7 separate regions of the Homo sapiens genome follow, and all the other regions are linked to region 6. The links are contacts of gene promoters, found by promoter capture Hi-C in blood cells and fetal thymus (Javierre and others, 2016). All regions are on one chromosome and are shown on one strand. The core of a region is centred on a gene start or on the middle of the fragment in contact, and the rest is flanking DNA. Distances in the headings are between cores, read along the strand shown. Region 1 has its middle 56 kb from the start of C13orf42. Region 2 has its middle 49 kb from the start of RNASEH2B-AS1. Region 3 holds the start of INTS6-AS1 (INTS6 antisense RNA 1). Region 4 holds the start of NUDT15 (nudix hydrolase 15). Region 5 overlaps RNASEH2B (ribonuclease H2 subunit B). Region 6 holds the start of KPNA3 (karyopherin subunit alpha 3). Region 7 has its middle 69 kb from the start of RNASEH2B-AS1.

Region 1 (4,067 bases), core at 1,561-4,060, 1.3 Mb after region 6:
ACTTTTTTTAATGGAACATCATTTCCACTTAAAAAACCACTGACAGACGAACTATGGTTACTCAGACTTGGATATTTGGCACACATTCTCTTAAGAAAATAACAAAGTTAGCCTGTCACTTCAAGGAAAATAACTGGCAGAATGTGTTGCCAATGACAAAACTCAAGTTTGGGGAAAAAAGTTGCATCTTATACTGTAAGCTTATTAGCATCCCAATCCTTAGAGGCTAAGGTGATGATGATATTGACAAATGCAATTTTGATATTGTATAGTGAAACATGTCAACATTTGTAAGATTAGCACAAGTCAGTGAGCTAATAGTTTCCAAATAACTCATGCAAGCTAGTACAAAATGATGCGAAAAAATTTCTATCCAAGTGTAACACAGATCAAGAGATTTTAATATAACAGAGTACGAAGAAGGTCATCAGTACAGTTACAGATTCAACATTATAACTGACCTTTGAGAAAATACGATTTGTCAAGCTTTTGTGAGGTTTAAAAGAATAGCCACAATTATCTGAGAAGAGTATTAAATTCTTCTTCCTTCCATATTTTCTTCACAAGTTTCAACCAAAATCATATCACAGAATACATACATTGCGGAAGATGGAATCCCACTTCCATTACTTCCATTAAGTCAGATATTAAAAGAGATTTCCAGAACTGTAAAGTAATGCCATCTTGTCATTAATTTATTTGAATAATATAGTTATCATAAAAATGTTACACTAACATGTACTATTATGTATTACAGCATAATTATATAACATATAATTATTTTAGATAAATTTAAAAATGTTTTTTTAATTTGTTTTAATTTCTAATACCATAAATACCCATAGATTAAACAAAAGCTCTGTGGGGTCTTCAATAATTTATGAGAGTATAAAGGCTTCTGAATACCAAAGTGTTTAAGAACTTCTGATTTAAATCAAGAGTGCTTCAGGTTTGCTTTGGAAGCTAATGAAGCTGAGGTTTCCAGGACAGGGAGGAAGCAGCCTCACCTGGCCCCCTCTAGCTTGAAGCCATCCCCAGCCTGAGGGGTCACCTTATATGCCCTGGTAGTGGTCCTGGATGCCTGTGGGTGGGGCTGCAGACCACCCAGTCCTCAGGACCACTTGCTTCTGGTAGACTCAACACACATCCAGACTCTACTCTAACCCCCAAAAAGGCATCTGAAAGAGAGGCTGCGCATTCCCAGTGGGGACCGCCTGGTCCAAGAGGACTTGCGTAAAAGTAGGGGAGATGGGTGGAACAGGTCGAGGGAGATCAAACGCTGGAGTTTTCCCAGGACTTGCCAACATGAAAGAAGCACACTTCAGCAAGAAACTGCTGAGAAAGTTATGGATGTGCATAAAGAAATTTGTCTAAGCTAACAATGAAAACAAAATACAATAAATACAATTTTCAGCCAGCCATGCTAGAATATTCATTCTATCCTCTTTATAGAAAATGACATTATAAAATCATTGTCCAATGAACAGAAAAAGCAAAATACAGCCAAAGATGCAGGAAAGTATTATAAAAGAGGGTTAGTTAATTTATGATACTAACAATAAAAACATGTTTCCAGCTTTTGATGTTTATGTTATCTGTCAGCTTTAAAGTTTTCTTCCTTAATTCTAAGAAGAGTACTTATTTTTGTAGCTAAATTTTTATTGGTAATTATATTCTTTTTAAAGGAGGCTTCCCAAATTATATAAGCTTCAGGCCTCGTGATATCTGTTTCTACTCCTACTAAGTTTATCTTCCAGGCCCTGCGCAGTGGCTCATGCCAGTAATCCCAGCACTTTGGGAGGCCAAGGTGGGCAGATCACTTGAGGTCAGGGGTTCGAGACCAGCCTGGCCAACATGGTGAAAACTTGTCTCCACTAAAAGTAAGAAAATTAGCCAGGTGTGGTGGAGTATGCCTGTAATCCCAGCTACTCAGGAGGCTGAGGCAAGAGAATAGCTTGAACCCTGGGAGGCAGAGGTTGCAGTGAGCCAAGATCGCGTCACTTCATTTCAGCCTGGGCAACAGAGCGAGACTCCATCTCAAAAAAAAAAAAAAGGAAGAAGAAAATTTATCTTCCATATAGTCATACTAAACAAAAGTATTTCTCAAGCTTTACCTTTGACAGCTTTTGTTAGAAAAAAATACTTCTGCTTTGTATATTTAATATTATAATATTCACTATATTTTTAGAATTTCCCACAGATATTCTCATATGATCTTTTGGAGGCTGAGTCCTCCAGGTGAAATGCTCTGACCAGATTGATTTCTAAGGGCCCTTCTGGCTCTGAGGGGCTGTGGTTTCAGGCAGCTAGATGAACCAGCAAAAATGTTTGTGGCCAGGAAAGGGACAGAAGTGGGGAGACAAGCAACATTTTTGGATCAAAGTTAAAAATAAAAACTCTCTGCTTTCAGCTACTTTTAAACTAGACTTTATTTATGGGAAAAGTAGATAACATGGAGGGCCAGGGGTTTTCAGTCTTGAAGAGAGGGTGAGAAATTTGGTGAGTCAATTGGATGGACGAGGGATAGCAGAAAAGGGAATGAATGAATTCTGACTTTTTCTGGCTCAATTAGCTTTGCGATATACTGGGCTCGAAGGAATGCTTCTCAGGATGTCACAATGTTAACAGCCTTTTTTTTTTTTTTTTTTTTGAGATGGAGTCTCACACTGTCACCCAGGCTGGAGTGCAATGGAGCGATCTCGGCTCACTGCAACCTCCGCCTCCCAGGTTCAAGCGATTCTCTGGCCTCAGCCACCCAAGTAGCTGGTGTTACAGGTGCTGGACCACACCTGGCTAATTTTTTTATATTTTTAGTAGAGACGGGGGTTTCACTATGTTGGCCCGGCCAGTCTCGAACTCCTGTCCTCATGATCTGCCCGCCTCGGCCTCCCAAAGTGCTGGGATTACAGGCGCGAGCCACTGTGCCCGGCCAGCATTTCCTATTTAGCAAGAACAAAAATCCCAAGGATTCATAATCAGGGTTCCTTGATTTTTTTTAGATTGTAGAGTTCTTAGAGATTCTGATGAAAACTATGAACCCTCTCCCCAGAAAATACATATAGTCACATGTACACGACATTTTAATAGATGACTTCGGAGGGTTCTCAGACCTTCTCAAGCCTATCCATGAACCTTTGGTTAAGAACCCATGACATAGAGAGAAGCCATGTAATCCCACCCACCTCTCTCCTAAATGGGTTGGTTGGGCTTGGTAGTCATCCATCCACCTCTCATTCATTTATTCATCTTCCATTCATACACACATGAATCATCCAATCATTCATTCCGTTTTCATGTATTTATTTATACAATGGAGAATATACGTCAGTCCTGATGGCTCTACCCATTACCTCTTCTTAGAGACCCCACCCTCCAAAGTCCATCTGAATGGGATACATATGGACTCCAGACCAAAGACCATCAAACCCTCTTTCTCAGGCATCTGCAATTGAGGCACTGAGAAACTGAGCCAGTCTGATGATGGTGATCTCTTGAATCCAAAGGGCATATAGAAAAGCTTGGAAGAAACAGAAATTAAGTCCAATCATGGTGGCATATACCTGTAATCCCAGCACTTTGAGAGGCTGAGGCAAGAGGATCACTTAAAGTCAGGAGTTTGAGACCAGCCTGGGCAACAAAGCAAAAGCCTGTCTCACCAAAAAATAAAATAAGATAACCAGGCACAGTGCCATGTGCCTCTTATCCTAGCTACTCAGGAGGCTGAGGCAGGAGGATCACTTGAGCCCAGGATTTGAGGCTGCACTGACCTATGAACATGCCACTGCACTCCAGCCTGGGTGACAGAAAAAAAAAAAAGGAACAGAAATCAAAAGACTTTCAGAGAGAAGAGATAACCAGGAAAATAGAGTAAACGTGAAGGGAGATGCAGAGTTGGAAACAGACCTGCTGACTTTCTGTTTCCTCTGAGATTTATCTGTACTTCCTGCAATTGAGTTCTGTTAGAGTCTTCTGAATCTTTATAGTAACTCCTTTAAACATTAGCTTACATAGTGGATTGCTGATCCTTGGAAGTAAAATCCTGGACTAAGTTCTGCAAACAAAGTGCC
Region 2 (4,046 bases), core at 367-2,866, 1.2 Mb after region 6:
TGTTTGCCAAGGCTGATGTTGAGAAGGGTATTTCCTAGGTTTTCTTCTAGGATTTTTATAGCTTGAGGTCTTACAGTTAATTCTTTAATCCATCTTTAGTTAATTTTTGTATATGGTGATAGGTAGGAGTCCAGTTTTATTCCTCTGCATATGGCTGGTCAGTTATCCCAGCATCATTTATTGAACAGGGAGTCCTTTCCCCATTGCTTATTTTTGTTGACTTTGTTGGAGATCAGATAGCTATAGGTGTGTGGCTTTATTTCTGGGTTCTCTATTCTCTTTCTTTGGCCTATGTGTCTGTTTTTGTATCAGTACTATATTGTCTTGATTACTGTAGCCTTGTAGTATAGTTTGCAGTTGGGTAATGTGATACCTCTGGCTTTGTTCTTTTTGCTTAGGATTGCTTTGGCTATCCAAGCTTTTTTTTGGTTCCATATGAATTTTAGAATAGTTATTTTCTAATTCTGTGAAAAATCACAGTAGTTACCTTTTTATAAACATTATTTTGTTACTATTTTCCCAGACTACTAACTGTTCTTCATAAATATGTTTTTTAATGACAGTATAATTTTTGATTATTTGGATATTTGATTATTTAATAACCATGATCCTGTTTGGACATTTGGATTATTCACAAATGTTCACTATTTGAAGAATCAGATTATAAGTAAATATTTGTCCACATATTTTATTGTTTCCTTATAATGGATTTTTGGATGTGGGCTTATTGGATTTTCAAATATATATTTATGGGAATATATTTCATGGAAAGTTTATAAGCTTTTGCACTCTAGGCTTATTTTAATGGTCTTGCACTCTAACAAACAGTGGGTGTGAAAGCTTAATGCCACCTTGTTAGCATTGGTTGTTACCTTTGGAAATAAGTGTAAAAACATTTTATTGTGGTTTTAATTCATATTTCCCTGATTAGTAGTGATTTTGAACATTTTTTCATACTTACTAATCAATTGTCATCTTATAGAGAATTGTCTTTTATATTCTTTGCTAAATTATTAGAGTATCAATATTTTTCTTATTGACTAAAAGTATTCTATAACTTAAGGACATTAATTATTTCTACTGTGTTTGTTGTAAATTTCCTTTCTTGGTTTATACTTTGCCTTTAATTTTGCCTATGATTTTTGACATGCAGGTGTTTTTAGTTTTTATGTAGACATATATACATAAACTTTTCCTTTACACAGATATTGTACTTAGAAAGATATTTCATTTTACAGGAAATTTAACCAGACACTTTTATTTTCTTCTGATTTTTTTAATAGTTATGTTTTTGGTTCTTTTTTGTTTTTTTTTTAGATGGAGTTTCGCTCTTGTTGCCCAGGCTGGAGTACAATGGCGTGATCTCAGCTCACCACAACCTCCGCCTTCAGGGTTCAAGTGATTCTCCTGCCTCAGCCTCCCGAGTAGCTGAGATTACAGGCATGTGCCACCACGCCCAGCTAATTTTGTATTTTTAGTAGAGACGGGGTTTCTCCATGTTGGTCAGGCTAGTCTTGAACTCCCAACCTCAGGTGATCCATCCGCCTTGGCCTCCCAAAGTGCTGGGATTACAGGCGTGAGCCACCACGCCTGGCCTATTTTTGTTTTATATTTAATTACTTAAATCATCTAGAGAATGTGTAATTATGTTTAAATATGCTGTGAGGTAAAGCTGTAATTTAATTATTTTCTCACCAGTTTAGTTTTTCATTTAATCTGTAGGATTATTTTGTCAAGTTCTAAGAGTAAGTTCCAATGGGATTTTTACTGAGATTTTGTTAGATGCATAACTTACTTTGGGAAAACAAACATCTTTACAAACTTAAATATTCTTATTTGGGAATATAGTATTTCTTTTTAGTTACTCAAGTCTTAAGAATACCTTTCACTAATGTTCGGTTCTTCATCTTCAATAGGTTCTAGACATATCTTTGTATGAGTATGTGTAGATATTTTCATTGCTATTAATGAAATCTGTTTTTTTCCAGCTAGGTCTACCAACTGGTCATTTTGTGGTAAAGTTTTATATTTTTATATATTTATCTTTTAAATAACCAGTTTACTAAACTATTAATGGAAAAATTTTCCATTTTATTTATTTTGGGTTTTAGTACATAATATAGTATGTAATTTAGTTTTTAAAAATTGCATGCAATTCTTTCTAATAGTTACACCTCTTTTATTATATATTTTACATTATATTACATGGGCTAGAATATCCAGAACAGTATTAAAGAGTAATAATAGCCGTCTTTGTCTAATTGGTGATTTTATTGATGTGCTTTACCATTAATTCTGACACTAGCTGTTGCTAATATGATAAAGACTATCCATCCTTTTATACTTAGTTTCCTTAAGGTTTAAATTAATAATTGGTGTTGGTTGTTATCAGAAAGCTTTTTGGCATCTATTGAGGTGTCTATAAAGTTTTTACTACTTACTATCAAACTGTACCCAAATGTCTAATAAACTCACCCTGGCAGTAGATAAAGGATCAATAGCATAATGGATACATCCTATCTTTCTTAACCTTTGTCAAATATAGTTTTCAATTAGACTTTCTACACTTTTATTAAGGAATTTTGCAGACATATTCATAAGCAATGCTGCTGTTAGGCTTTAGCGTTAGAATTAGGCTAGCTTTCCATTTTTTCCAATGTTCTGGAAGGATTCATTTTGCATTATTATATTCTATTGCTGGAAAATGTTTAAGAATCTTAGAGGTAAAACTATCTAGCACTGGAGCCTTTTTGTTGTTATAGTTTTCTTTAATCTGCAAGAGTTTCTCATCTGTTCTTTGTCTTACTTGACATTTTTGAGTACAGGGTAAATATTTGCTGGAATATTTCTTATTCTAATATTTCTTTTTGATTAAATTCAAGTCATACTCTTAGGGCACCTCCAGGAGTAATATGTCTTTCTCAGTACACCATGGCAGGAATCACAGTCTATCCCAATATCAGTGTTGTTGACTTTGATCACTTGATTAAGGTGCTGCCTACAGTTTTCATTGTGAATTATTGTTGATTATTTTTATAATTAATAAGTAATTTGTGGGTAAGTATTCTGGGACTTTGTAAGTATCCTATTTCTTATCGGATGTTTGCCCACTATTTTTAGGATCTGATGATTTTCTAACTTTCATTTCTTCTATATTTATCAGTTGGCATTCTTCTGTAAGGAAGAACTTTCCCTTTTCCTTGCTTCTTCCCTCATTTATGAATTCTTAACAGTATGGATTTATAGATTTTTATTTTATCCAGTGGGCTATATTGCATTATTATTATTAATTTTAATGCTCATGTTGTTTCAGAAGAGCTAGTGGGAGACCCTTCAAGCTGACTTGTGTATCTTTTGGGTATGTTTCTATCATTCTTTAATACATTCCTGCTTCTGCGACTGGAGTTTCAGCCTCTTGTCCTGTGCAAGCCCTGAATCCACCTTTTTTTCAAAGAACCCTGGTTCCTTTCAGTGAAGAATGGTATTTAGAAACCAAGATCTAGGCAGTAGGTATGCTCATTGCTATTGGTATGTCATTGCTTAGGAGCCAAAGCTAGGAAATGTGTGTGTGTGTACAACATGTACACACACATATATACACTATATACTCGTATCAACATTTCTAAATCTATCCATGTATCTATCAGTATTTATCTATGTGTGTGGTTTTTTGTAGATTCCCTTTATCAGGCTGAGAAAGTTTCCTTCTGTTCCTAGTTCACTGAGAGTTTTTATCATATATAGGTATTTATCATATGTGGATATTGTCAAATAATTTGTATCTACTGAGATGATCAAGTAGTTTTCTTTTTAATAGAGGAATGTCTTTTAATATATGAATTATAATGATTGATTTTTGAATGTTAAACTAATTTTGCATTCTTGAGATAATCCCTACTTGGTCACAGTATATTATTCTTTTTATATGTAGTATGGGGTTTTTTTCCTAATATTTTGTTAAGTACTTTTTTGTATCTCTGTTCATGAGGGATATTGGTCTGTGGTTTTCTTTACTTGTAATGATTTTGTCTGATTTTGATGTCAGA
Region 3 (3,992 bases), core at 303-2,802, 1.7 Mb after region 6:
CGCCGCGCTAGGACGCTGCCGAGCGGGGGAGGGGGTGGGAGCCCGCAGGGAAGAGACCTCAGCGGCTGGGAGCGCAGCGGGTGGGGGAGGGGAGCATAATGAAGGGTGAATGGGGGGGCGGGGAGGGCGAGCGAGGAAGGAACAGGGAAGGGAAGGGAGGAAAGGGGGAGGGCGAGGGCTGTTACCTTGATAGCATAGGGCGGCTCTTCGAAAGTGACCAGCATATACCTGTCTCCTCTGCTGGCAGGGTCCCGGGCACGGAGCTGCGGGACGGGAGGAGGAACAGGGCGGGCGACAGGGAAGCACAGAGGCGAGGTTACGAGGCGGAGAAGGGGCGCCCAGCGGCCCCGCCGCCCCCACAGTACCGCACACGCAGCGGCCACCCCTCCACGCCGTCCCCCACACACAGATCGCTCCCCACACACCGCCCGGGGCCGGAGCCCGGGCCCCGGCCGAACCCGGCTCGCAGCGCCCGCCCGCCCGCGCGGTGGGGGAGGGGGTCCCCGAGCCCGGCAGCTCCCGCAGTCAGGTCCCCGACACCCCCGCCCCGGCCGCCCTCCCCCACCCTGCCGCCCGCGGGCCGCCGGGCCGGGGTCGCCGCCCGGGCTCGGTCAGTCGGTACCTTCATGAAGGTCTCTACCGCGCCTTTGGCCGTGTCCAGGTAGGTGGTGCCCAGATGGCTGCGCTGGTTCATAGAGGCAGACGTGTCTATCAGGAACAGTAAGATGGGCATAGTGCTGGCCGGGGACACCGGGGCCCGAGGTGGTGGAGAAAGAGGAGATGGTAGAGGTGGAGGCGCCGGTGGCGGCGACCGCCGCTACGCGGGGCGGGGGAGCACGGCCCCCGGGAGGAAAACACTGTCTGGGTCTTTCCTCCGGCTGCGGGGAGTTTCTCCCCCGATAGTTGAGAGGAAACTCCCCAGACCCAGTGCTCCCCGTCGTACCCCCGCCTCCGCCTCCTCCTGCCTGCCTGCCCGCTGGGGCGGGCGCCCAGCCGTCTGTCTGTCGGTTCGTCCCCCCCGCCTCGGGGGTCCCGTCCCCGCTCCCGGCCCCTGTGTGTGTCCCAGCGGGAGACGGGCCTGGCTCCCCACCCCACCCCCGGTACAGGAGTGGGGACCTGGGAGCTGGCGAAGAGGGGAGTGGGCTGAGGGAAGATTGGCCCTGGGGCTGTTGGGAGAAGTTTCAGGGACTCCCTCCGCACCCCGGCGGTGTCACCACTTTCTCAGCCCCTCTCGCTACTGAAGCGCTTTTCTCTCTCACACTCCGGTTTTAACTCGGGCAGGGGCTGCGGAGGCTCCGCCCCTGACACGTCCCCGAGCCACGTGATACACCGCCTCGCCGTTCTACTGGTCAGGCCCTATCCTTTCATTAGCATATTTAAACAGCTCAGGGGCGGGGGAAGCTTGTAGGCCGGCTCCGGGGACAGTTATTGAGCACGCGCAGAGGCGGGGCGTCGGGTGCGCGCGAGCGGGCGGGCGGGCCGACCCGGAGGCGGGCTTCGGGAAGGGGCGGGGCCGGACTGCGGAAGGACCGCGAGGTGGGGGCGGGGGCCGCGTCCGCGCGCGCGGGGCGGCCGCGGCGGTGAGCCTGCGCGTCAGGGCCGCCGGCCTCTCCTTGGCTGTTGGAGGTGATAGGGGTCGAGGGGAGGGAAAAAGGGGCTGGCGTCAGCCGCCCCTGTGAGGTGGCCGTAGCGTGGACGAGTAAGAAGGGTTGAGTAAAGTGGACAAACACCTGGTTAGGAGAAGAGGGCAGGCCCGCAGCCGCCCTCCGGAGGAGGACTCGGGGCCTCGCGGGCGCCGGAGGAGGTTCCTGGGCCTCGGAGGGCCGCCCCGGCGCGCCGCCCCGGCGCGAGCGGGCGCGGGCGGGGGAGGGGAAGTGAGAGGTTGTTTATGACCGGGGACTAATCTCCTCCGCGAGTCCCAGCGCTCCCTCTGGGGAGTGCGGTTGAGGGGCTGTCCTCGCACGGAGCCTCGCTCGGCCTCGGGGGAGCCACGAGAGGTGGGAGTTGGACCCGCAGCGGGCCAGGAGCCCTGTCATTGGAGGACCCGCCAAAAAGGAAGCAAACCCTCTTTTTCTTTATCCAACCCCAAATAGCTAGGGCCTAGGGGGAAGACTCACATATCGATAAATGGTTTGTTGCCCGTTTTATTCTCTGGGAAATACAACTGATCTTACCAAAGAAATAACCTGTCTCTTGCCGTGTTTACTTAGAGCCATAGAATACCTGTTTCAGAGCTGAAGGGGACCTGAGCCCATGATAATCCATTACCTCGTGAGAAAGCGGAAAAACTGACTTCAGCTTGCCCAGATGGCGCAGAGAATGGGTTTCCCGTAACCCCGCCTGTGTCTTTCCTTCAGCCTCGTCCCAAATGCCGTGGGAGGGAAGGCACTCTCTGTCAAGCTGCTGTCACCTTACCTGAAGTAAGGAGTCCACGCCTGCATGTCCGAGGAAAACAGTTTTCTCAAACACATTAGTTGAAAAACTGAAGACGCTGCCTAAAATACAAGCTGAGTTAGAGACAGCCCTTGTAAGACTAGGTAGGTATTTACAGGGCCTCTCCCACTAGCTTTGTTTTTCCAGAGTTTGTTCTTTATCCGGAAATTCTTAATTTGCCTACTGATCATTTAAAGAAAGGGTTCTATTAACATTGACACAGAAGAGACACTTTGTGGCACTTTTTAAAAATCTGAGTCTCGTGACTTGGTATAACTTCTGAAACTTACTGTTAATTTATAGCAGAGCTATTTGAGTAATATGCTCTTCTATGAGTATGAACAATAGAAGAAGTGTGATTTTTAAAGTGATTTGGACTACAAAATAAGAGCATGGAATATAGGCTTTACAGCCAGTACTTGCTGAGGATGTACTGTGTATTAGGTGTGGTGCATATAAAAAATAAATAAAATGTGGTCCCTGTCTTCAAAGAGCTTATGTTTTCTAGGAAAATGCTACATATTACTAGCTACTCCAAGGCAGAAAGTTGTTAGACACCAAATCAGAAAAAATAAAAATGTATTACCTTGGGGTGATGCAGGAACATTTTCCAAGGTTTCAGCTTTGCCTTAGTGTTTCTTAAACGGATCATAGATCTGAAGATAAGAATCAGAGTTCTATGGCAAAATACGAGTTATTTTACCAGTTATAAAGATGAAATTTGTCTTTCAACTTGATCATTTGCATAATTTTATACAATTGCTCTTTAGTTCTTTATATTTGTGCTTTTCAAACTGGTCTGTGGACCCCAGCCTACTGAAAACATTCTCTAGGATCATAAGAATTTATTTTAGGAGTCTGTTCATTATTCAGTTTTAAGAAACACTGTCTTAAAGGACTGGTAGGATTTGGATATGGGTAAAGGAAGGGGAAGCTGCTAGTGAAAAGATCTTCCCGACATTGAAAATGTGAAGAAAGGAAGTTAAGACAGCATTGCTGAGGGCTTCCTGAGGAACAGTGAAGTTCAGCTAGGTTGGAGCAACAGGTGCATGTAGAATAGTACAAGATCTAGAAACACAGGTGAGATCTAGACAGTAGAGGGCCTTTATTCCAATCTATGGAGGTTTTTTTTCCCCTATAAATTGGAGATTTATTTTTCAATTGCGTTGCTAAGTAGAAGCAATGTTTGAAAGAAATCAAACTAGACTACTGAAGATTAACATGCGTTCACAATGACCTTACCTATTATTACAGTTATTCGAAATCATTTTTCAGTGGAGCCATTGTCACAGGATCCTTGGAGTGTCACTTTTCCAGCTGGAAAAATGGCACCTCTGCCCGAATTTTGGTCGGGCTCATTCTGCCCACCAGTCCCAGCAGGCTGCACTCTGCTCATACTACGGCCTGGATCCCACACCTGCCAAGTGCAAGCCAGGTGCGGAGCAGCGAGGGGTGTGTGAGCGAGCAAGCATGGGGTCCGGCCACTGTATACAGCCCGGCATGCCAGCTGCAGGAGGGCGGGCAGCTCTAGGGGCTGGCCCCTTGCAAGGCTGTGGCTG
Region 4 (3,702 bases), core at 924-3,423, 1.8 Mb before region 6:
AGTTTTATAGTCTTCTGTATACAAGTGTTCCATATCTTTTGCTAAATATATTTCTAAGTATTTTATGTTTTTTATGGTATTATAAATGGTATTGTTTTAAAAATTTACTTTTCAATTGTTCATTGCTAATATATAGAAATATAATCAATTGTGTATATTAACCTTGAATCCTACGACCTTGCTAAACTTATTTCTTCTAATGGCTTTTTAATTAATTCCTCAGGATTGTTTTAAAAAAAAAAGACGGTTACTTATTCCTTTCCAATTTAACTACGTTTTATTGATTTTTAAATTTTATGAGTTGTGCTAACTAGAATCTCCAGCAACATGATGACTAAACGTGCTCAGAGTGGATACCCTAGCTCCTCCCAAATCTTGTCTTTCACCAAGATAAGGCTAGGCTAGTGCTATGGCTGCCATAACAAAGTATCAAGCCATAACAAAGTATCAAAGATTGTGTGGCTTAAATAACATAAATTAATTTTCTCACAATACTGGAGGCTAGAATTCTAAGATCAAGGTGTCAGCAGACTTGGTTTCTTCTGAGGCTGCTCTCCTTGGCTTGTAGACGGCTGCCTTCTCCCTGTGTCATCATACAGTCTTCCAATAGAACACAGTCTGGGTTCTAATCTCTACTTCTTGCGAGGACACCAGTCATAACATTAGAATAGGGCCTACCCTAGTGGCTTCATTTTAACTTGATCCTGTCTCCAAATGCTGAGGTACTGGGGGATAGGACTTCGACATAGGAATTTTGAGGGGACACAATTCAGCTCAAAACAGTCATTAAATATGATGTTAGCTGTAGGTCTTTGTAGATGCCATATATCATGTTAAAGTTTCATTTTATTTCTAGTTTGCTCAGAGATTTTGTGGAGTTTTTTTAATCACAACTGAGTATCGGATTTTATTAATTTTTTTCTGCATCTATTGAGATGATTATATGTATTTCCTTTCTCCCTCTGTTAATATGCTGAATTACATTGGCTTTTCAAATATTAAGCCAACCTAGTATTTCTGGGATTAATCTCATTGTTCAATATATTATCCTTTTTATATACTACCATTTTTTGAGAAGATATTGTAAGTACCTTTGTAATGAATGTGAATGTTGATAGTGAGGAGAGATGCTGTGAAAAGCTTAATACCCATTTAGTATAACATGGAGAGTAAGCATATTACTTAGAAATAAGTAGGCAAATATCAGAAATACAGTTCAAAGAGTTAAAAGTGATTGTTTCTGAAAGTAGGAGGGTCAGGTTGCTCTTGTTGCGGTTTTTGCACCATTTTACTTCTTAAAATTATAGCTATAGGTCAGGCGCAGTGGTTCACGCCTGTTATCCCAGCACTCTGGTAGGCCCAAGTGGAAGGACTGCTTGAGGACAGGAGTTGGAGATCAGCCTCGACAAAAGACCGACAGCCCACCTCCACAAAAAAAAAAAAAAGAAAGAAAATTAGCTAGCTTGGTGAAAATTAAAATAAAATAAAATTACCAGTATGTGCACATTACTTTGGTAGAAGTAAAAATAATGAGAAAGAGAGAAAACCCTCCCAGTAACTAGTCATTTGTTTTTATGATTCAGCTGGTTTGTATTTTGCATGGTGCATGGTGTGCAAACATCTGAAAATGTCTGTTTTCCACTGTTTGTAACTAACTCTTCCCAGCATGATTTATCAATTAGCCTTTATTTCCTCCCATGACTTATGAATATACCTTAAGCATAGTTGTTTATAATGGGATGTTTCTAAACGACCTATCCTTATCCTGGTACCACGCTGATTTGAGCTACAGGGCAAATGGGTGCACCATGGTGGGCGAGGTCATTCACGGAAAAAAGAATGTGCAGTGGTGCCGAGGTTGGTAAGAGCAGGCGGCTTGTACATGTAAATGCATGGTTTGCAGGAATCTGGGAGTGGATAGGCTGACGGGTGATGAATATTCAAAGCACAACTGTAAGCGACTTTAGTTACAGCGAAACTCTAAGGCACGCTGCCCTTCGGAAGGAAACACGGCATTCCCCAACCTGATAGCCCTCCGCGACGCATTACGCACCGCGGACAGCTGGAGAGGCCGAGGCGCTCTCGCTTTGATTTCGGCGCCTCCGCCCTCGCGGGGAGAGATTGGCTGCGGCCGCGGGACGGGGTAGTGAGCGCGTCACTTCCTGCCGCTGCCAGGCGCGTCCTCCCGCGCGCTATGACGGCCAGCGCACAGCCGCGCGGGCGGCGGCCAGGAGTCGGAGTCGGAGTCGTGGTGACCAGCTGCAAGCATCCGCGTTGCGTCCTCCTGGGGAAGAGGAAAGGCTCGGTTGGAGCTGGCAGTTTCCAACTCCCTGGAGGTCATCTGGAGTTCGGGTGAGCAGCCGCGGACGCGAGGAAACCGGGGCGTGCGCAGAGGGACGAACTCACGCCGTGCTTGCTTCCGTGTGCCGTGCGTGAGAACGTCCGCGCTGACGCTGCGTCCTTTCTTGCGCGTTCCCTCGGTTCCTCCCCTCGACTTCTGGGCGACGTAGGATCGCGCCCAGGAGGGGGCGCTGTGCTGGGTCAGGCGAGGTCTTTGCTAGCTGGGTCTTTCCGGCTGCGCCCCTGCTGGGTGGTGGTTGGGAGTTCGTCTGTGAGGTGTGTTTCTCACAGCTTACACACAAAAGGAGGAAAGCAGGTGTGTGTAAACCTCCAGCAGCCCGATATTGTCAGCTAAGACATTGCACCGTTTCCATGTGATTGATTGATTGATCGATTGATTGATTTGAGACTGTGTCTCGCTCTGTAGCCCAGGCCAGAGTGCAGTGGTGCTATCTCCAGTCACTGCAACCTCCGCCTCCTGGGTTCAAGCGATTTTTGTGTCTCAGCCTCCTGGTAGCTGGGATTACAGGCGCCCGCTACCACGCCGTGCTAATTTTTGTATTTTTAGTAGAGACGGGGTTTCGCCATGTTGGCCAGGCTGGTCTCGAACTCCTGACCTCAGGTGATCCACCCGTGAGGTCAATGACCATAGCCAACATTGAGCTCTAATGGGCTTTTTGTTAAAGGCTGGATAATATGCCAAGCTCTTTGCATGTATACTTTCATTTGATCTTTACATAACTGGCATACTCAGTGGGCTAAATTTGATGGGAGAACAAACAGGAAATGGTTTTATTTTCTCCTTCCACTGCCTTCAAACATGATTTTTTCTTTCCCTCTTCAGTGACGTTTCCTGCAAATTCTATAGTTTTCTTGTCACTTGGTTATAAAAATAAATCACATTTGGGTCAGTATGATTCACTTCCAAGCATTTAAAAGTCCAATCCAATTTAAACCTTCAGTGTCACTTCCAGTTTCTAATCCCTCCCCTGCAGTGCATAAAGGAGGTGTGAGCCATTGTTCTGCTTTTCTGTATCCTCCTCCTCTTCTCACCTGGCTGTCTCTGAGTTTCCTTCTTTCTCCAGTGTGTTGGAGGAGGAGAGAGAGCAAGCCATTCAGGTGACTGATGCTGCTCTGATCCATCCATTGGTGTCCTCTGGGCATGATATCCACATGTGTGCTTTCTCAGGGTATGTTTGTCAGTTGTTGGGAAGTCCCACAGAGATTTTCCTGACATAGGTGACGGGCTTTCTGTGATGCTGGCCCACCTCCTAGCTCTTGCTTTTAGCACATCACCCCACATTTTCTTTCTACTGGGATCTCCTATTTGATTACCCAGCAGTCTCTTGTGGCATCTGCTTG
Region 5 (3,976 bases), core at 1,368-3,867, 1.1 Mb after region 6:
GCTGTTGGAACTGCTAGAAAGAGCTGTGTGGTCAGGGGGGCAGGAACTCTTAACAGTTAAAAACTTGAGCTACCAGCTCCTGCAATTCTTCCTTCTGGCCTTTAGCGCCACCTGCAGGCTCTGAGGGTACAACAAGGTTTGACAGCGACTGCAGTGCAACACTAGTTCTCAAACTTGAGGGCATCATTTACCTGGGGAGCTGGGCCTCAGTTCCCAGAGGTGCTGGTTCAGTAGGTCCTGGGCTGGGGCCAGAGAATGTGCATTGGTAACAAGTTCCCAAGAGATACTGATGCTGCTGGTCCGGAAACCACTGCCCCCACCCCAGGAACCACTGCAGTAAAGACTTTGGGAACTAGATTGGGATATAAGAATGACAAGCCTCATGTTTGGCCCTCTTTGTGGTGGGCCAGAATTTATATGGTCAAGGAAGTGCATGTAAGTGCAGAGTGTGAGGCTCATCTTCCCAGATGTAGTTGTCGTCTTTTCCAGAAGATGAGAAATCAGCCTGCTTAGTTACCCATTCGGGAGTTGGAAACGATATGCCCTTGGCTGAGGGAGCACCATACTCCAGTAAAGCTGGGCCCTTAATAAAGAAAACAAAGATTATTAAACATTTTTCAAAAGTATTTGGCGGAGGCGGCTTGTATTCGGTTTTAGAAAACTTGGGATCTGAAGAACTTACTTTGTGTACTGAAAAGTGAGCACATGAACCCACAGGCCAACAGAACTTTAAAGGGATTTATCCGTGAGACAAGGGTAAAGATGCCTAACCTTGCAATGATACTTTTTTCCAACATTTAATTCATGCTGTTCATCGAGTTGCCTGCCACAGCACTGTGTTATATCTTGAAGGATATATTTAAATGTTTGATTTAGGTATCTTTGCCTCTAGTTTTCAGTTTGTTTGGAGAAGCTGGCTATCTCAGATAAACAAATCTGGAACTTGGAAGAGATACTGTGAGATATGCAGACTTGGGACGTTGGTTTTCATAGGCTGGTGAAGACAGAACCATTTCCCATTTCAGCAAGGCAAGCATTTCTTTTAGTTTGGGATGGTCTTAAATGTTTCTGTAAAATGGCCTGGGAATACTAGCCTGTTTGCAGTTTTAATTTCTATAAGAGGCCATTACTTTACTTTTTGGAAAGTAGTATAAGTTTCCATCCCTCTTTTTCTGCCCTAAAAGTAAATGTTTGAGTCATATTTTTAATGTTTTTCTTAAGTCCATTTTTCTTGTTAATGCTACTAAGTTGGGATGTACCCAGGTGTGAGAGGTCACCTGATTCATTGCGTTTAGAAGACTGCATTTATTGCTGTTGGGGGCTGAACAATTAATTGGGTTCATCTCCAAGGAAATGTTAATTGGGAAACCCTAACATTGTGTATTGAAAAAAAAAAAAAGAAGAAAAATCATTTCAGGCCTGTTAAAACAAAACTCATTTGGGTTCACTTAGGCTGATTAAAATATTCCTTAATCAGCCCCCTGATTAAACAGTCCTGAGGTGAAACTGCACCTCAACTCGAATTTTCAGTTAGAGACAAGTTTTGCAATAAAGTTATCCCCCTTTATTTCATGAATATACATGTTAAAAAGTATTTTAGGAAAGATTGCACTTATTATTTATTTCTCCACAGAAAGCAGTTTCATGGAGGTAGAGGATGGGTTGCTTTTTGGGAGATAAGAATCCCTGTCTACCTTAGACATTTCAAATACAATAACAGCTTTTTATGTGAGGCATCGTGATAATCACAAATGATTATACCAGAGCTATCTTTCCAATTGGAATGCAAAAATAGATGTGGAAGGATTGTATAAATTCATGCATTAGAACTATGTTCTAATTAAAGGATTTAAAAAATAAATTTAAAAGGAAAAACTAATTTTCTTATTTAATGATGGAGAAAATTTATATTAATGTTATTTCTGATTACAGTCTTGAAGATTTTTTTTTTTTTTTTTTGGTCCACCAACTGGCATAATTGTAGCTTTTTATAAGTCCAAAGAAATGCCTCTTGTTTTGGGGGAGGAAAAAAAGTAAAGGTTTAAAGTGTATGGCAAAGGAAGAACTACTATAGATTTAACTGACTTTTCAGTGACACTAAAAAACACTCTTTTCCCTTCTTTACCTAATGGCTCATGGTTAATCTCAGAAGAAAAAGTTAAGCAGGATTTTTGTTCTTTGTCAAAACGGTATGTATGTATATGTTTGTGTTTAGAAATATACGTGAGGGCCGAAAGCTTCCTTATTTTCAGAAGAGATGAACTTCACTTGGCACATGATAGAGAACCTGGCCAATTCAAGTGCTGATTTTAGACAACCTCGGAATAATTAAGCTCAGCTTTTTGGAAGATGTGTCATTTACCGAATAGTCTACTGCAGGCAGTCAGCAGTGTAGGAGTCTCAGAGTTTTCCAGCATAGAGCGTGTTTAACATTTTCCACATGAATCTCAGTCTGGCTTTGTTTTTGCAAAATGTTTTTCGGTGGGACCCGACTGACCTTTCTCAGATGGCCACTGGATCTGCTCCCCTTGCTATCTATCTGAGCACGTTCTGAAGTGGATGGACTTCAGTTGCCAGTTGGTGTAATCAGGCTGTTTCCAGAGTCTGATCTTGTCCCTTTAGTAACTGTTCCAAAATACTTGGGACATTTATAAGTAAGAACTCATGACTCCCACATATTTATCCTCCAGGTCAGAAAAAAATTCATAAAAGGAAAGCAAGCAGTGTTCATGATTTTTTATTTGAGTAACAGAATAGGGACTGCATGGATTCTCCCACATCCTCTGAGACTGTGATTTTAAAAAACAAACAACTCAGTCAGTGTGCTCCAAAGCCTGGCTATAATAACACAGACTTAAAAGCTAGATTTATGCTATTTATTAGCTCTGTGTCATTGGGTGGTTTACTTCCTCACTATAAAGCCTCACTTTTGTCATCTCCACAGTGGGGAGAAGAGTACCAGTCTCATGGGGTTGTTATCTGTGGTTTGAGTTACTCATAAGCTTTCTTACACCTCAAGCTTTTAGCCCTGGGCCTGGGACAGAGTAGATATTTCAATAAATATTTACTGAACGAATAAAAGTCTCACATTCCATTTCTTCCTGCAATGTCTTTGCTTATTCTGCTTTTTCCTCCCCTTCTACTTCTATCCAAATTCTACCCTTTCCTCAAGGTTCCATTCAACTTTATTTTCCACAAAGCTAAGCCATTTGCTCCAGCTCAGCTTCTCCGTCTTGACTTTGTGTCTGCCTGGAATCCTGCCTGCTCTTCACTTTATCTACCTGGCAAATTCCTACTTATCCTTTAAACCCAGCTCAAGTATCACCTCTACCAGGAAGCCTTCCCATGGGTCTCTCCTCTTGTTACTGCCCAGGTTCGTGGTACCTCTTTGACCACCTACACATTTCATCATGATTATTCATTTAAGTGCCATTTTTATATAAATATGTATTGAACACCTAATACATGCCAGGAGCTAGAGAGAGTCCAAGTGTGTTTTCCCTGAGTGGCCATTTCGCTTCTCAGTGTGGGCACCTCAGCCTTCTGCTTCAGAGCACAACCTCCAAACAGTAGAGCATGTCACGTAGGATTTCCAGGCCTTTATTCAGAGCTACCTTTATGACTTCCTTGTCTAAGGATGACTGTTTGCTAAAGCAGAATGGGCCACCCCGTGGCAAGGGGATGTAAGGGATTTGGGGCTGCATGTTCTAGTCCCTGTTTCATTATCTGTCCCCGAAACAGCTAAGCTGGAGGCTGGCTTACTCCTCCGAGGGCCTAGGTCTCAACATTTGGTAAGGCTCTCCTGCATGATTGGCTACCTTTGCCTGATTGTTTTTAAAGATTTTTTGTTATTGTTGTTGCCTTTTAACCTTCTTTTGACCAGTTAACTCTACATTTACACGTTTTTCTCACAGTGGTTTTTTTTTTTGATAACTTTAAATAATTAGAATAATAATATTTACCCAGTATAGAAATT
Region 6 (3,655 bases), core at 381-2,880:
ACCAGGAAAGAATATATGATCTTTATTTGACTCATTTAAATGGGAATTCCACGGATATCTCCCTAGGTTCTTTCCTACTAGTATTTAATTTTGTAGCTCTGAAAAACGGCCTGAGTTTGTCTGTTTCTCTACAAAATAGAACACTGAATGGTATATTTACCCCACAACCTTCCTTAAGACAGGATAAAACACACCTCTTAATCACACTAGCTTATCAAAAATTACAAAACTGCAAATCATGTCGCCTAGTATTAGCAAAGAAGGCTGCGGCCTTAAAACCATTTTCCCCCTAACAAATCCAAAGGTCACGGTCCCAGTGAAGTTTGTGCATTATACTTACTGTTTTCAGTAGCTGCAGAGAGACCTCTAGCGCTGCCTCAATAAGCCGAGTTTGCAAATAGTACCTGCTAATGTCACCTTAATGAGACAATGGCAACATGCTGAGTAGCAACTAACTGAGTGACCGCGATGAATGTTTAGTTTTGCAACCACTTGGAAATTCTACTAGCTTGGAGCAAGAGGTATGTAAGAGAATTATGAACCTGTGTATCCAATTTATTTTAGTAAAACGTGTCAAAGAAATTATCACCCTATGCACACCCCACTCCAAGAAAGGCTAAGAAAACAAGTCCTATGAGCGGAGGTCGGAGCAACCTCTTTTCCGAAGCCTGAACACAATAGATGGCAAACTATTGTCCACCTTCAGCTCGCTCCAAATGCCAGCAGTTGCAGGAGTATGAGCTGCAACAGCTCGGCACGACTAGTCCAAAGACGAGCACTGGAATATAAGAAAATGGTCCTGGCGCATCCTACCCTCCCCCATCGATCACCCTCAAACAAGTCAGTTACCCGGCTGGTCCCCACCCCCCTCTGCGGGCCGCCACCGCCCGCCTGGGCCCGGCTCGCAGAAGGTAGGAGCCCGGACCGGCAGAGCCGAGGCTCCATGTGAGCCGCGCGGGAGGCGCAGAGGGGGCTGCACCGGACGGAAGGTTGCACCGGTGGCGGGCGCAAGCAGCGGCCGCCCCCTCGGCTGTGCGGTCGGAGGGCCCGGGCGGCAGCATCCCCGTTCATCCGGGCGGCCCTGGCCCGCGGACCCCGCCTCAGCTCCACATCCCCTCCTCGCCGACACCAGGCCGCGCCCGCGTGACGGGGCCGAAAACGCCGGCATTTCCCGGTCGCCGCGCCGGCAGCTCCGGGGGGTGACTGCAGCCCGGCCGGCGTCTCGCCGCCCGCTCCGCCCAGCCCGGGGCCGCGGTGACGGGAGGCGGCGGCCAACTCCGGCCGACCACAAGCCGACGAGAACCAGCCCGGCGCCGGCCCCCCGCCCCTCCCCGCGTCGCCGGGCCGGCGCGGCCAGGCGGGCCCAGACCGCGGAAGCACACTCACTTCCACATCGCGGCCCTTGTTCTTGAAGCTCTTGATGCGGTGGTTCTCCAAGCTGGGGTTCTCGGCCATGGCTGCGCGCGGCTCCGGCGGCGGCTACTCCTGCGGCTGCGGCGGCGGCGGCGGCGAATCTTGGAGCGGGAGGGGGAGGAGGGGGAGAGCGGGAGGGGGGAGGGGAGAGAAGAGCACGTTCTGTGACGCCTCCGAGCGCGAGGTGGCAGTAGCGCCGGGGGAGGCGCGGGCCGACTGCCGGGCCGGGTGGGGCGGGAACGGTGCTGAGAGCGGCGCGCGGCCGCGGAGGCTGGCGACACGTGACCGGGGGCGGTGACCGGCTTGGGCGTTCGCCGGGCTATACGTGCCCGTTGGTTCTCGGGATGACCCTGCCCTCTTCCCCTGCAAGGGCTCTCCACAACCCCTCGGTGCTGCAAGTTTTGTGCCAGAAATGGAGCCGGACCTGGCGACTTTTACTGCCCCTCAGGCGCGGGGCGGCGGTCGTCAACTACAGTTCCCATCATGCCACGATCCGCCTGGAGTAATTCTCCACGCCTAGTGAGAACGAGGAGAATGCCGGGACCCTTCCGCGCGCGGCTCTTTGCGCGCCGCGCTCATGTTGCTGGGCACAAAGCTCCGCCCCCACAAGGCCGCCTCTGGGCGGGGAAGAGCGGGGGAGCGTCCCTGGCACCTTGCGCCCTATCAGGAGGAAGAGGGCGGGCCTTCCTGGGAGCGCACCTCGCTGCCTGTAGCTAGAAGATCAGAAAAGGAACAACCGCGAGTGCTTTGCAGTCTCGCTTTTTTGGGGGTCTTCTCAAATAGCCACCTTCATTCGCTCTTCCCATGCTCTGCTTCAGTTTTATAAATAGCATTTCTACCTGACATGTACATGTGTATGTATGTGATACGAGTGTTTATATGCGTTACCTAGGTGCCCGCGCGGAAATTCAGCTCAATGAGAGCAGGTACTTTGGTTGAATTACTGCTGAATCTCTAGTGTCAAAACAATGCCTACCACGTCGTAGATACGCAATACTTGTTGAACTGGCGCTTTAGTGTCGCCCAGTTTCTTCATCATCCTTCCAAGCCCGGTTCTGCAACCTTCACTCTGGCAGTCCCTGTATTTACATGCCCCCCAACACTTCTTGTTCTACCACCACACAGAATCTTAGCCTTCAGGCAGCAGCCCAGCCCTGGTCCGCAGACTCTCCTGTGTAGCACTCCCACTCCCTCTGGGGGCATCGAAAGAATGAAAGAGGGAAATTTGGATGGATTACACTGATAAAGAGCTGCTTTCGGCCGGGTGTGGTGGCTCACGCCTGTAATCCCAGCACTTTGGGAGGCCGAGGAGGGCAGATCACAAGGTCAAGAGACCGAGACCAGTCTGGCCAACCATGGCCCGCATGGTGAAACCCCTTCTTTACTAAATATACAAAAATTAGCTGGGCGTGGTGGCGCATGCCTGGAGGCTGAGGCAGGAGAATCGCTTGAACCCGGTAGGCGGAGGTTGCAGCGAGCCGAGATGGCGCCACTGCACTCCAGCCTGGCGACAGAGGGAGACTCTGTCTCAAACAAAACAACAAAAACAACAACAACAAAAACAAAAAGCTACTTTCTGGAGCAGGTGGGCTTCATTTGCTTGTATGTTAATTTTCAGAATCTATGGTAGACATGAGCAGGTATGTAATGTTGTAGTACTTATAATTGAACTGAGGTCAAAAGTTGGTAGGACTATACCATGAAGAGATCAAAAAGGACAATCTTTAAAGCGAAAGGGCCTTGGCTGGGCGCGGTGGCTCATGCCTGTAATCCCAGCACTTTGGGAGGTCGAGGTGGGTGGATCACAAGGTCAGGAGGTCGAGACCAGCCTGGCCAACATGGTGAAACCCCACCTCTACTAAAAAAAATACAAAAATTAGACGGGCATATGGCGCATACCTGTAATCTCAGCTACTTGGGAGCCTGAGGCAGGAGAATTGCTTGAACCTGGGAGGCGGAGGTTGCAGTGAGCTGAGATCGTGTCACTGCACTCCAGCCTAGGCGACAGAGTGAGACTCCATCCCCAAAAAATAAAAATAAAAAATTCAAACAACCCAACAAAAACATGCAAAGGACACTGATCACAGAAAAAGAATAAATATATGAGGAGATACAGAAAAAAAAAAAAAAAAAAAAGCGAAAGGGCCTTAAAGAACCTGAGGCCCAGAAGTCAGGAATTCAGAAGCCTTTGGTGGCCAAGCTATGTCCAGGGGCATTCGTCTTGTGAGTGGTGGGGTGTGGC
Region 7 (3,932 bases), core at 718-3,217, 1.2 Mb after region 6:
AATCAGAAGCAGTGAGAATTCAGCAAGGAAGTAGTCTTAGCTCTTTGGGTTTGAAGAATCTCTTTGGGATATAATTTCACTTTTTCTCTGCCTGGTGCTAGAGTCTAAAGCTGGCAGTGGAAATTCCAAGATAAGTTGTTCTTAGAACCATAAGGGCTGGCTAACAGGCCAGTGGGGACACAGCCTAGAGGGCCAGCAGCTATCTGGGGGCCCTAGGGTTGGACAGGCCCAGGCAAGGTGAGGGCAAAGTCAGGTGACTTCATTTACCCAGGTGCAAAGAAAGGCGTCAGCCTTCAAAGGCTTTCCATTGTTAACAAGCAGACCAGAGGCAACTAATCACTGAATGGAAACTGATAATTTTGCTGCTCATTTATTTTCCCAGTTAATGCTTTTCTTTTTTTTTTTTTTTTTTTTTTTTGAGACGGAGTCTCGCTCTGTCGCCCAGGTCGGACTGCGGACTGCAGTGGCGCAATCTCGGCTCACTGCAAGCTCCGCTTCCCGGGTTCACGCCATTCTCCTGCCTCAGCCTCCCGAGTAGCTGGGACTACAGGCGCCCGCCACCGCGCCCGGCTAATTTTTTGTATTTTTAGTAGAGACGGGGTTTCACCTTGTTAGCCAGGATGGTCTCGATCTCCTGACCTCATGATCCACCCGCCTCGGCCTCCCAAAGTGCTGGGATTACAGGCGTGAGCCACCGCGCCCGGCCCCCAGTTAATGCTTTTCAACACAACCCTTTATATTTCCGAAGAATAAAGACTTGTAAAAGAGATGGGGGAGTTATGGCTGCAGAAAACTGGCCCTTACTTTGCTCTGCTGACAGTTTTATAAGGCCAAGGAAGTTCAAAAAGTAAAAAGACTTTCTAAGCAATTCCACAGAAATTCTAAGCATTTTCAGGAAACCCATTTTTAACTTTAAAAAAATATTAATACAAGATTAGTTGCAGTGATTTAATTAGTAAACCATGACAGATGGTTAACATGCAGCATTTTTTTTTTAATGTGAACAAAATCACCAGTTTTTTTTTCAGTTTGTTTTTTCTTATTAATCTTGGGTAAAGATTCCTTGGGTCTTCAAAGATAACTACTCAGTCTACTTTTTAAATGGATAGTTTGTCTGAATAATTTTGTTAAAGCTTTAGTAAATGAATGTTGGGAGTGTAATTTCCAGAGTACAGGCTGAATGCAATGACCCCTAACACAGCCCAGATCTGGTCACCATGGACTGATGGCAGAGAGGATCCAGATATTTTGGTTGGATTCATGATTAGAGACTAAATCAGTATGATGCCTATGAAAAGGTCTGGTTTTTAAATATTTGCCATGGAGCTAGAGTAGAAGGCAGGGTGACAGAGGCAGCGGTGGCTGGAGTGTAACCAGCCCATGAATCTCAGGCAGGACAGGCTTGCATGCTTCTGTATATTTCTCTAGGAGAGAACACTGGGCTTCAAGGCTAGTCTGTTCTGTCTTCAGGCTCTAGGAATCTTCTTGTCAAACCCCTTCATTGGAAAAATGGGGCCTAGAAAGATTAGATGACTTTCCCAAGTGATAAGCTAAGAAAATACCCCGAATGCTTTAAATCCACCTTGAGGCTTCAATGTCTATGTGCTCTATAAAGTGAATCCCATATTGTTTTTCTTTAAAAGATTTTCAGAAATAGCTGCCTTTTACCCTTTACTCACACTAAAGTTTTGAAATACTAATGTTTCTGATTTGAAGATGGAGGTGGGAAGTTCATCCTCTATCCCCACCTCCCACCCCCAATCTCTTCTTTGAAATCATCCAAAGCAAAAGGAAAATAAGAAATGGAAACCAAAAAATCAATTTTCAGCAAAACTAGGAGGTATTTTAAACTATGAACAACAAATAGATGGAAGGACTGCAAAAAGCAGGGGAGCTTCCAGGAGAAAGAGGAAGGAAGAGTTCATGGCTGTGGAAATGAGACTGAGTCAGCAAAAATACATTTGTAAACAGAGAGGGCAGAGGTGAGGAATAAAGTCTAAGTCACATGTTTATGACAGAAGGAACCAGTATACACACCAGAACAGCAAGAACTCTCCAAGACCCAATTTAGTTGTGAAATGAAGAGGTGATGGAGTTAAAAAAAAAAAAATCACACATCCACATCACATTTGCAGGAACTATCTATCTCAGTGGCAGAGGGAAAGAAGAGAGACGTTGCTTTTTAAAAATCCCCATAGCTACCTGTCTTTATTGATCAGGGAGAAATAGAACTAAAACTTGCATGCAAAACCCTGGTTTATAAAGAAAATTCCTACTAGGCTGGGATGAGGCCCTGTAAATATTTGGCCCAAGGAAAACTCTTGTGCCTCAAAGATGAGAAACCAAAAAGAACAAACCCAAGTTATTTCAAAGATATGAAACATAAAACAAGAAAAAAAAAGACCAGAAAAAGTAAATGGCAGATAAAGTGTTGCCAAAGAGCAGATAAAAATAGTAAAAAGCATTTTACTACAAACATAAAATACTTAAACAATTACCTCTATGAAGTTTGGGCACAAAGTAGAGAGGGAAGAATCATGGAAGTCACAGAAAGACAAGTGATGTTGTTTGAGCTGGCGCACTACAGGGTAGGCATGGGGGAAAATGTAAACCATCAAAGAAACAAAGATGTGTTTGAAGGAAGATAGACAATAATAATAGCACAAGAGCTCAGAGGTTAAAAATAAGAAAACCAAGCAAAATGAAATTGATTTGGGTACAGGAAAGATTTATTAAACAGGACAAAAAGGTGAGCAAAATACTGATTTTTTAAAACCTGGTGATTGTAGAGTTCAAAAAAACAAGCTTACTTGTAAATATTAATGCAAAAATATTAAATAAAATATTACCAAATAGACTCAAACAATTCATTAAAAGAATAATACAATGTGACAAATTGGGGTTTATTCATAATATAAAGATGGTTCAATATTAAGAAGTCTTACCATATTAGTTATCTAAGAAAGAAATAAGGTATTATTAATCTCCTTAGATACTTAAAAGATACTTGGTAGCACTTCTTCTTGTCGCCATGTGAAGAAGGATGTGTTTGCTTCCCCTTCCATCATGATTGTAAGTTTCCTGAGGCCTCCCTAGCCCTGTGGAACTGTGAGTCAATTAAACCCCTTCCTATATTAAAAAAAAAAAAAAGATACCTAGTAAAATTCAACTGCCATTATTGATCTCAAAATAATTCAGTGAAATAGGAATAGATGTGTACTTCCCTAATTTATACAAAATAAAAGTCAACATTATGTTTAGTGGAGAAATATCAGTAGTGTTACCATTAAAGTCAGGAGTATGATAAGAATGTTTTAAACAAATAAGAGAGAGAAAATAGACATATACAAATTGAAAAGAAGTAAAATTATCATTACTTGCAGATCTTATATTTGCATAACCCAAGAGAATCATCTGAAAAAGATTATAAAAATTATAATTCAGTAAGGTAGCTTAATGTAAAATCAATATATAAATATCAAAAGCTTTTATACATTTAAGCAACTGCCGGATAGATGTCATGGAAGAAAAGACCCTTTTACACTTTCAAGAACATCAAAAAAGCTAAAATAACCAGAAATAAATCTAAGAAATATTCCATATGTATATCAGGAAACTTTAATCCTGAAAGACAACAAAGCACAGAGAAGGAATTAGAGGGGCTTCTCGCTTAGACCAGGTGACCAGGCAATGTGGCATTAGGAAGGCATATTGACTTCATCAATAAGATTTAGGACTTCTACTTATTCTGTAAGAACGCTTACAGACTTCATCTGTAGAGGGAATTTTCTCTTAGTTAACATTTATTGCAGAGTTACATGTGCAAAGCACTATATGCTTTGCCAGTGCCATGTCACTCATCATTGTAACAACTTTTTGAAGTAGGCACTATGATAGTTTCCCTCCCACAGAAAGGACTTCCAGGGTCCAAA

What was found. Contacts are between HindIII fragments. The CHiCAGO score rates a contact against its expected background, and 5 or more counts as called.
Region 1: a contact is called between a fragment that was not itself captured here and the fragment with the promoter of KPNA3 in region 6, in 1 of 17 cell types (naive B cells). The highest score is 6.8, in naive B cells.
Region 2: a fragment that was not itself captured here is called in contact with the fragment with the promoter of KPNA3 in region 6 in 1 of 17 cell types (naive B cells); the score reaches 5.1 in naive B cells.
Region 3: the fragment with the promoter of INTS6-AS1 here is called in contact with the fragment with the promoter of KPNA3 in region 6 in 4 of 17 cell types (monocytes, total B cells, activated CD4 T cells and 1 more); the score reaches 10.6 in monocytes.
Region 4: a contact is called between the fragment with the promoter of NUDT15 here and the fragment with the promoter of KPNA3 in region 6, in 10 of 17 cell types (non-activated CD4 T cells, neutrophils, total CD8 T cells and 7 more). The highest score is 21.1, in non-activated CD4 T cells.
Region 5: a contact is called between a fragment that was not itself captured here and the fragment with the promoter of KPNA3 in region 6, in 10 of 17 cell types (naive CD8 T cells, naive B cells, total CD4 T cells and 7 more). The highest score is 9.3, in naive CD8 T cells.
Region 7: a contact is called between a fragment that was not itself captured here and the fragment with the promoter of KPNA3 in region 6, in 1 of 17 cell types (total B cells). The highest score is 5.8, in total B cells.

Annotation. Positions count from the first base shown.
Region 1 is chr13:51,052,872-51,056,938 of GRCh38, forward strand. It overlaps the pseudogene GUCY1B2. Among named protein-coding and RNA genes, the nearest start is that of C13orf42, 56 kb to the right of the region's middle. The HindIII fragment of the contact is 1,409 bases long and covers 2,107-3,515 here.
Region 2 is chr13:50,958,157-50,962,202 of GRCh38, forward strand. It overlaps a transcript of RNASEH2B not described here. Among named protein-coding and RNA genes, the nearest start is that of RNASEH2B-AS1, 49 kb to the left of the region's middle. The HindIII fragment of the contact is 1,556 bases long and covers 839-2,394 here.
Region 3 is chr13:51,451,793-51,455,784 of GRCh38, forward strand. It overlaps INTS6-AS1 (INTS6 antisense RNA 1), which reads left to right and starts at 1,553. Exons shown (of 2, transcript NR_103812.1): 1 at 1,553-1,626; 2 at 2,211-2,924. It overlaps INTS6 (integrator complex subunit 6), which reads right to left and starts at 1,244. Exons shown (of 18, transcript NM_012141.3): 1 at 623-1,244; 2 at 186-263. The coding sequence starts at 733. RefSeq lists silencers at 270-389, 400-669, 910-1,169, 1,400-1,599, 1,690-2,009 and 2 more and an enhancer at 1,230-1,279. The HindIII fragment of the contact is 2,653 bases long and covers 1,400-3,992 here.
Region 4 is chr13:48,035,553-48,039,254 of GRCh38, forward strand. It overlaps NUDT15 (nudix hydrolase 15), which reads left to right and starts at 2,174. Exons shown (of 3, transcript NM_018283.4): 1 at 2,174-2,352. The coding sequence starts at 2,195. LOC124903172 (a long non-coding RNA gene) reads right to left here and starts at 2,440. Exons shown (of 2, transcript XR_007063788.1): 1 at 2,054-2,440. RefSeq lists enhancers at 1,302-2,178, 2,179-3,054, 2,221-2,460, 2,511-2,670. The HindIII fragment of the contact is 6,950 bases long and covers 1,139-3,702 here.
Region 5 is chr13:50,912,103-50,916,078 of GRCh38, forward strand. The region is part of intron 1 of RNASEH2B (ribonuclease H2 subunit B); the gene reads left to right. Among named protein-coding and RNA genes, the nearest start is that of RNASEH2B-AS1, 3.4 kb to the left of the region's middle. RefSeq lists an enhancer at 2,801-2,890. The HindIII fragment of the contact is 765 bases long and covers 2,236-3,000 here.
Region 6 is chr13:49,791,052-49,794,706 of GRCh38, forward strand. KPNA3 (karyopherin subunit alpha 3) reads right to left here and starts at 1,631. Exons shown (of 17, transcript NM_002267.4): 1 at 1,387-1,631. The coding sequence starts at 1,455. RefSeq lists enhancers at 146-665, 670-1,331, 1,332-1,993, 1,797-1,926 and silencers at 787-1,356, 1,477-1,726. The HindIII fragment of the contact is 6,989 bases long and covers 1-3,655 here.
Region 7 is chr13:50,977,422-50,981,353 of GRCh38, forward strand. No RefSeq gene overlaps it. Among named protein-coding and RNA genes, the nearest start is that of RNASEH2B-AS1, 69 kb to the left of the region's middle. The HindIII fragment of the contact is 1,672 bases long and covers 1,132-2,803 here.